Linked DNA regions of Homo sapiens: region 1 is linked to region 2. Evidence: promoter capture Hi-C in 16 types of primary human blood cells and fetal thymus (Javierre and others, 2016). All regions are on one chromosome and are shown on one strand. The core of a region is centred on a gene start or on the middle of the fragment in contact, and the rest is flanking DNA. Distances in the headings are between cores, read along the strand shown.

Region 1 (4,299 bases), core at 1,689-4,188, 90 kb after region 2:
AAAAGAGAGAGAGAGCAGGACTGAAGCTCATGCGCAGAGAGGAAACCAGCCATGCATCTGAAGAAGAAACCAGAGAGGCAGGAAGAACACAAAACATGGCAGCAACGAACGCAGCAGAGGAAGTTTCAAGGAGGAGGGTAATGAGTCCTGGGGTATGTACACTGTCGGGTGCCAATCAGATGGTCTGTGGACAGGGCCGCAGCAGGGTGCGGTGGAACACGAGAGCTGCAGCCTGCTTTCCACAGGTGCAGCTCTGCTGGGTGAGGAGGGAATGCAGGCTGGATGCAGGGCACTCTTAAGTAAGTTTAGTTATTTGGGGAGGAGGGGAAGGGGCCGCTTCCAGAATGGGAATCAAGATCAGTTTTGTTTTTTTAAGATGGGGGAGATGTTTGAATGCTGGGGAGGAGTTGGTTTATGGGGACAGTTGATGGCACAGGAAAGAGAGGGGTTAATTGCTAGAGAAAAGTCGCTACAGAGGTGGGAGCAGGTGGGAACAGACCACCATTCCCATTATCTGGCCAAAGGGTATGCTGAGCCCATGCACAATGGGGTTCCAGCCTAGAGAGATGACAGCAGAGGAGGGATGGGAACATCTAAGTGGTGAAACTGTCCCTATAGACTTTATAAAATTAATCAGGAAAGAAGGAAGGGGGAGAAATGAAGATAAACCAAGCTTGCAGCACACTCAGCATTGACCATGAGGTCCGCTTGCTCTCTGATCCACTTCCTCACAGCTGTCTGGGGCCTATCGACTCAGGATTACATGAACCCTGTTACGAGATGATCCTTCCCCTTAGCTGCTCTATAGATAACAACTTCAACATTATAAAACATTAACTTTTCCATTTGAGATACTCTTTCAGTTTCTGCATACCAATGAAACTACTGATGCCAGCTGGTCTTAAGGACCTCACAGGAGCTGAGTCACCAAAGAATGCAGTTTCCACATCCTGATGATTTCCTTCCCCTTATCCCAACTAATCAACAACCCCAAATTCTTATCTAGAAATGGACCAAATTCCTTGATATTGACTGGCACTGGCCGAGGCTTCCACATATGGCTCAGTGGATATGTAACAGGATCGTTTGCCCAATGCCTGGCAAGTCAATATAACAAGACAAGGGGGATTGCTGCAGAGAAAAAGTCTAATAATCATAGGAGAGCTAAATGAGGAGGTGGGAAGAAACCTCAAATCCACCAACCTAAGGAATTTGGAGCTACGGATATTAAGGGCTTTGGAAAGGGCTGAGATGTGGGGATTGTTGATTGGTGGAAGAGTGCAGGGTGAAGTCATAGGACAGGGAGATGAAGAAACTGCATTCTCATGCTGATTTGGTTCCTCGTGGGGTCTTCAAACTCATTGGCATCAGCCTTTCCTGATGGAATTCAGGATATGAAGAATATCTTGAGCAATTCTTAAACAAAAGCCTAATGATTCTAACATCAGAAGTCCTATCTATGGGGAAAATGGGATTTAAACAGTCAGTATCTTGAGCTGCATGACTTTCAGTTTAAGGAAGTGGGCCAGAGTGCAGCCTGATTAATGCTTAATTATAACTATATTTCTGCCCCAAACCTGGCATCTAAATTCTTGTTAACCCTATGAGGATGGTTTTATTATTATTATTATTATAAAAGAAAGAGGTTTAATTGTCTCATGGCTCTGCAGGGCTGGGGAGACCTCAGGAAGCTTACGATCATGGTGGATGGGGAAGCAAACATATCCTTCTTCACATGAGGCACGAAGGAGAAGTGCTGAACAAAGGGGGAAAACCCTTACAAGGGATGGTCCTTATAAAACCACTAGATCTTGTGAGAACTCACTTACTATCACAAGAACAGCATGGGAGAAACCACCCCGATGATTCGATTACCTCTCACTGCATCCCTCCCACAACACATGGGGATTATGGGAACTACTATTCAAGATGAGATTTGAGTGGGGACAAAGCCAAACCATATCATTCCACCCCTGGCCCCTCCCAAATCTTATGTCCTCACATTTTAAAACACAATCATGCCTTTCCAACAGTACCCTAAAGTCTTAGCTTTTTCCAGAATTAACCCAAAAGTCCAAATCCAAAGTCTCATCTGAGACAAGGCAAGTTTCTTCCTCCTATGAGCCTGTAAAATCAAAACAAGTTAGTTACATCCTAGATACAATGGGGGTACAGGCACTGGGTAAATATACCCATTCCAAATGAGAGGAATTGGCCAAAACTAAGGGGCTACAGACACCATGCAAATCTGAAATCCAATAGGGCAGTCATTAAACCTTAAAGCTCCCAAATGATCTCCTTTGACTCCATGTCTCACATCCAGGTCACACTGATGCAAGAGGTAAGTTCCCACAGCCTTGGGCAGCTCCACCTCTGTGGCTTTGCAGGGTACTGTCCCCTACTCCTGGCTGTTTTCACAAACTGGCACTGCATTTCTGTGGCTTTTCCAGGTACATGGTGCAAGCTGTTGGTGGATCTACCATTCTGGAGTCTGGATGATGGTGGCTCTCTTCTCACAGCTCCACTAGACAGTGCCCTATTAAGGACTCTGTGTGGAGGCTCTGACCCCACATTTCCCTCCCTCACTACCCTAGCAGAGGTTCTCCATGAGGACTCCACCACTGCAGCAAACTTCTGCCTGAACATCCTGGCATTTCCATACATCCTCTGAAATCTAGGCAGAGGTTCCCAAACCTCAATTCTTGACTTCTGTGTACCTGCAGGCTCAACACTATGTGGAAGCTGCCAAGGCTTGGGCTTACACCCTCTAAAGCTACAGACTGAGCTGTACTCTGGCCCCTTTTAGCCACAGCTGAAGCAGCTGGGATGCAGGGCACCAAGTCCCTATTTTGCACACAGCAGGGGTCCCTGAGCCCAGCCCAGGAAACCATTTCTCCCTCCTAGGCCTCTGGACCTGTGATGGGAGGGGCTGCCATGAAGGTTTTTGACATACCGTGGAGACCTTACCCCATTGTTTTGGAGGTTAAAATTTGGCTCCTCGTTACTTATGCAAATTTCTGCAGCAGGCTTAAATTTCTCCCCAGAAAATGGGTTTTTCTTTTCTATTCCATGTTCAGGCTGCAAATTTTCCAAATTTCCATGCTCTGCTTCCTCTTGAATGCTTTGCTGCTTAGAAATTTCTTCCACCAGATACCCGAAATCATCTCTCTCAAGTTTGAAGTTCCACAAATCCCTATGAGGATGGTTTTAGACACTCTTGGGTGATTCGTCTCCCTGCAGGTATAACGCTGAACCATGCTTCTGCAGGCATCTGGTCCCTGGCACAGTCAGTGACTCCAGAGCCAGTACCAGCCCATCAGGGCAACCCTCTTCTCAGGCCCCAGACTCCCCTCCTCCCTACTTCTGGCCACTGAATAATGAAGTCCACCAAATCTTGAGATGACACTGTCAACCCTGCTTTCCCACAGCTCCCTAATTCCATGTCTCCCATAGTCTCCGATTATTTCCAGGGGTGCCTTGAAATGTAAAAGATATTCAAAGCAAAATTTGTTGGCAGTCAACTTTATTCGTACAAGCATTCCATTAAGGCACTTAAAGGGATGGCAGAAAATCAAACAATGGGAGGGACACGCTGCCCTTGAAAAGGAGTTTCTTTGCTGATGCCACCACCGGAAATAGTGCCATTAATTTTATAAAAGAGGTATCATATTCAGAAAGACTCTATCAACCACTGTAAATGCTTTGGAGCCTCTAACAGTTGTGAAATGTGGAAGCCAAGGATGTAGGGGCCTGTTGGAGTGCGCCCATTCCTGGATCTGGGAAGGAGACGCCTTTGAAGCTGTACCTCTCGGATGGCTTTGATCCTCCAAGACCCAGATATAAAGACAAGATGAGGGAGGTGTTATTAGTGTTATTATTTATACTTGGTGGAGCTTACATGTGGGACCTCCTTTATAAAGTGCTTTGGGCACTACTGATTTATAAGTAATTTCACTTCTCACAGCATCACTTCTGGGTGGAGGAAGAATGCCAGAGGCAGCTCTGGAAATAATCACTTTTCTCCAAGATAGAGTACTCATTAATCCAGGCCTAGTGGGAACATCTATTCCCTTTATTGTATCCTTTTACTGGAAATTATTTCTTTAGTAGAAGGTCATGTGCCTCAGTGACCTGGAATGGGGGTTCTCCAGTAATTTCTATCATTCTCCCCTGTTGAAAGCTTATGTATTGAGAACATCTGGGTAAGAGTCACAGGCAGCTTGGAAAAGAGGGCAGTGATTAGGGATTTCTAGTTTTATTATTTTTTTTTAGCATTTGTTGAGATTGGTTTAAAATCCA
Region 2 (4,474 bases), core at 1,090-3,589:
GTGGTGACTTAATACATGTAGGTTTTCTTTGATACTCCCAAGTCTTTCAAATCAAGAAATCCCTGGGAGGAAAATACAATAGAAGAGTTGGAATCAAATGCTGGTGGGCATGGACTATATGTGTGTGTGTGTGTGTGTGTGTATACACGTATATATATACACATATATATGTATATATACACGTATATACACACACATATATACATATATACACACATATATGTATATATACACACATATATATATACGTATATGTACAGACACACACACATACACACACACACACACACACACACACACACACACACATATTTTAGAGACAGGATCTCACTCTGTTGCCCAGGCTGGAGTGCAGTGGCATGATCATAGCTCATTGCAGCCCTGAACTCCTGGGCTCAAGCAATCCTCTTGCCTCAGCCTCCGGAGTAGCTGGGACTACAGGCACACACTACCACACCCAGCTAATTTTTAAATACATGTTGTAGAAACGGGGTCTCACTATGTTGCCCAGGCTCAAGTGATCCTCCCACCTCAGCCTCCCAAAGTGCTGAGATTACAGGCACGAGCCACTGTGCCGACTTTAGATTGTACTTTCAATCTCCCCTCTTTGTTCTTTATTGCTCTGAGCTGGCACTGTCTTGGGGGCATTCTGCCATCCATTCTGAGGAATTCACTGGCTGCTGATCCTAAAGGGCTTTGCAGTAATGAGAGAGAGAGGAGGAGGAAGGAAGGGAAAGATGGAAACGTAGCAAAGGGACCCCTGCCTCCCCTATGTCCAGGGGTCAAGTGTGCTCCAGGCATCCTTTCCAATCTCACCCCTGGGGGACAGTGTGACCATCTGCTTATCCTACTGGCTTTTTATTGCATACTTTCTTCATGCCTGCCACCGTGTTAAGCTCTTCTCTGACATTGCCTAACTTAATTCTCACATAGAGTAGGTACATTATTATCCCCATGTTATAAATGTTGTCCTGGGATTCAGAGAAGTTAAGTAATTTGCCCAAGGCTGCACAGCGGGGAGGTGGCAGACCTGCACTGGGCTCTGTCTAATGCTGCACTGCATGTGTCCACTAGCCATGCCCCACTGCCCATCTGGGTTTCAGGAGAAGACAGTGCTCACACACTGTGCTTTTCACTCACTGGGTATGATGCCCCCTGAGCTGGGCAAAGGGCAAAGGGCAGGGCCCTTGAGGAATTTCGGAGAAAACGAGATGAAAGGGAAGACAGGAGGGCCTGGGGGAACACCAGGAGGGTCCCGGGTCAAGGTGGCCCTGGGACATCCGAAGGGCTGCCACTGATGTCATGGAAAAGCCCCTCACCCCACACCTTAAGGTTGCCTGTCACATTCGGCTCCTGAATCTACAATAGCCATCAAGGAAATCCACTTCCCAAGGCCGACTGTCAGGGCATTCTAGCACCTGGGTCTTTGCCTGTGTGGATTAGGGAAATGGAAGGAGTTCCCATACCGGAGCTTGCCTAAGCTGTCTCCTAGGCAAAGACTTACTGTGAGGCCATGGGGCCCCAGAGCTGGAGGAGGCTGACAGGGAGCTTGTTTCGCCCCTCACACACCCTCCACCACCCTGCTGCAGCTTCCCTAAAAGTGGCTAATGTTCCTCTGATAAAATGTTCAACTCTGATGCCACATTGCTCCTTATATTAAAAAAAAAAGGCAAAACACAGCTGAAGTGATCTCTAGAAGCACATCCAGTCATCTCTAGAAGCCTGCAAAGAGGCCTCACTGACCTTTCCTTGCTTGTAGACATCGCCTCGTCTTTGTCCCAGGGTGGCTATGAGCATCTGGACCCCCTCACCCCACTCTCTCTGCCTCCTGAGCACAGTGAACTCAGACTGACTTTCTCCAAAGAGATCCAAGCATGAAGCAAATATTCATTAGTCTCCTAAATAGGGCCATACTCCACATCATTCCTTTTTTAAGGAGAAATCTTAAATAAGATTAATGGCATAATAGATCATTTCAGGTGAGTCAAATAAAAAAAATAAAAGCACAGCATTCTTGAGAAAGAGATTAGTTTTCATAGGCAGAAGCTTAAAGGCAAAACAAAATCCCAACCCACAAACCCTAAAGTAGCATTTTATTATAGCACCAACTTAGAGAAAGGCAAGCCCAGTGATGACTGGGTATCCTCGCAAGTCTACCCTGAACTTGGGACCCATCCCCAGGTGTGGGAGTAAAGAAATCATTGCATGATTTTCAATCTGGGATCGAGCCTTGATAAGAAACCAGCAGTCCTGACCACAGAAGTGGCCCCCCACGTACCTTGGCTCTCTCTGGAGTGTGCCTCTGGAGCCTCGAGCTGCACAGTCCCCCAGCACACCCTCTTGGCAGCCAGGTCCGCCCAGCTATATAGGAGCTGCCGGGGGAGGTGGCATTCCTGCAGGTCTCCAAATAAGGCAGCCCTTCCCTCCCCGGCAGACCAATCAGGGCTTCCTGGACCACTCCTTCATCCTGAGAAGGATGGACCTTCTCATCACACTTTACTAAGGAAACCACGTGAAAATCTTGATGAAGTTCAGCAAGGCTTCAGAGGTGCCTTTTAGAATTGGAATGAGATGTGTTAGAAGGAAAATGCTTTTCCCATCAATATCTATGACAGATGTGGCTTCAACAAGCCTCGCTGGACATGCATAGTGTCCTGTACCTAAAGGCCGGCCTTGGACAGCAAAGCAGTCTTTGCTGACAGCCTCTGTGGGGAGGTTCAGCTCAAAAAGAGGGCAAGCGTTCACCTGGACCACCACGCCCTGAGGATGGGACCAACAGGGTGTGTGTGTGGTGGTGGGGGGGGGGGGCGCCGGGGGGCGGTTACACTTTCATCGGGTAGTGGGAAAACAGAACTGGTAGGTATGGGGTGGAAGACACGTGAGAAGACTTCCTGGCATGTTGGGCGAGGAATGCTTGAAGGACTGAATTAGCCCAAAGGCCAATAAGTTAAAGATCTGCGGGAACCCCGGGAGCAGAGACACATTGACACGCAGCCAGTCCCCTGGACAGGTGGTGCGGGCTGAGGGCGAGTTCTGCAGAGTGCCTTCTCCTCTACATGGTGTCCGAGCGCTGCGCAGAAGGGGCTGGAGGTGCATTCCTGGGCTTTCCAAAGCAAGAGACTCATTGGTATTGGGTGACCATTTTGGGCCTTATACAGAAGGGACTTGCTCAGGTGTCCCTGTTACAGTTAGTACTGCAAGGCAAAGTCAAAAGTGAATATGGGAGCAAGTATGGGGCCAGATTTTCCTGTAAACAGAATGCGATTTTTATGCTGAATGTGACCCCGTCAGTGTTCACGGTGGATTTGCGTCAGAGCAATTTTGCAAACCAAATTAAACGGTTGTTATCGAGAAGGACAGCAGATAGCGCCAGAGAGCTGACAAAGACCGCAGCCGGTCGGTGGGAAACCCGGGCTTCTGGGCTCTGGGTGGATTTGGGGCCTCCGGTTGGGCCTTTCTTTCTCCTCTGACTTTAACATTTGTTTCACTTCCCCACTTTTTTTTTTTTAAGAACTTTTCTATTTCCTTTCTAGAACCACAGACTTTTTGTGCTTCTGAATACACACAAAACAGAAACACAGTAGTGTAATCTTAGTACAGACTGTTTGCAAAATGGAGATGAAAAAATCAAAATCTCCTAATAGTTCAGTACCCAGAGACAAATGTCAGGACAATTTTGTTTCACATATAGATACTTAGGGCCACAGTGTTTAGAGCTAGAAAGGACTCAGAATTCTGTGGTCCAGCTCCTTTGCATGGTGAGCTCACAGGCCCAGATAGGCTCAAGGTCACCCAGCCAGGCCGGCAGTGCAGCCTCGGCAGGCTCGTTGTCCCATTGTGAACTCTGTGCACTATCCCCCTGCCTGTTCCCACTAGACACAATCATCTCCAACCCCCTCCACCCCTCTTCTTCCTATTCCCTTTCTAAGCAGGACTTTACCCAGAGAATGGTGGGAGGTTGGTTTAGAGCTGACGTGGCAGCAGATTCCTCTTGTTAGTGAACAAAAGGCTGTTTACAAAGGCACAGAGGAATGGGGAAGACTGAAATTGCTACAGAAGCAGGGAGGAGCTCTGGAAGCTGCAAACAAGGCAAGAAAACAATAAGCAGATGTGGAGAATGTGGAGCCGACCCAATGCTGCCTCGCATCCTCCCTCCCTGCCTGTAAAGATCGACAAACAGACCAAGGAATTAGTGTGAGAACATTCATTTCTTCAAAAGAACTGAGAGACCAGGGCCAAGTGAATTACACTATGTTACATAAAGTGGATTATATTATATAGTCTGGGAAATAGAACTGTGTGTAGATCATCTTTGAGAAAGCAGGAAGAATGAGATGGAGACCACAGATCTGGGTGTTCTATGATGCAGGGGTCTATGACATAGTTCTCTAGATCGCGTAAATAATAGAAAATTATGCCAGTTTCTAAAAACGCAACAGGGAATGGCTGAATTCTAGAATGCATGAATGGGTCA

The links. Contacts are between HindIII fragments. The CHiCAGO score rates a contact against its expected background, and 5 or more counts as called.
Region 1: a fragment that was not itself captured here is called in contact with the fragment with the promoter of PRND in region 2 in 1 of 17 cell types (M0 macrophages); the score reaches 5.4 in M0 macrophages.

Annotation. Positions count from the first base shown.
Region 1 is chr20:4,630,563-4,634,861 of GRCh38, reverse strand. No RefSeq gene overlaps it. Among named protein-coding and RNA genes, the nearest start is that of PRNP, 54 kb to the left of the region's middle. The HindIII fragment of the contact is 2,489 bases long and covers 1,694-4,182 here.
Region 2 is chr20:4,719,774-4,724,247 of GRCh38, reverse strand. PRND (prion like protein doppel) reads right to left here and starts at 2,339. Exons shown (of 2, transcript NM_012409.4): 1 at 2,279-2,339. RefSeq lists an enhancer at 3,417-3,636. The HindIII fragment of the contact is 8,148 bases long and covers 2,049-4,474 here.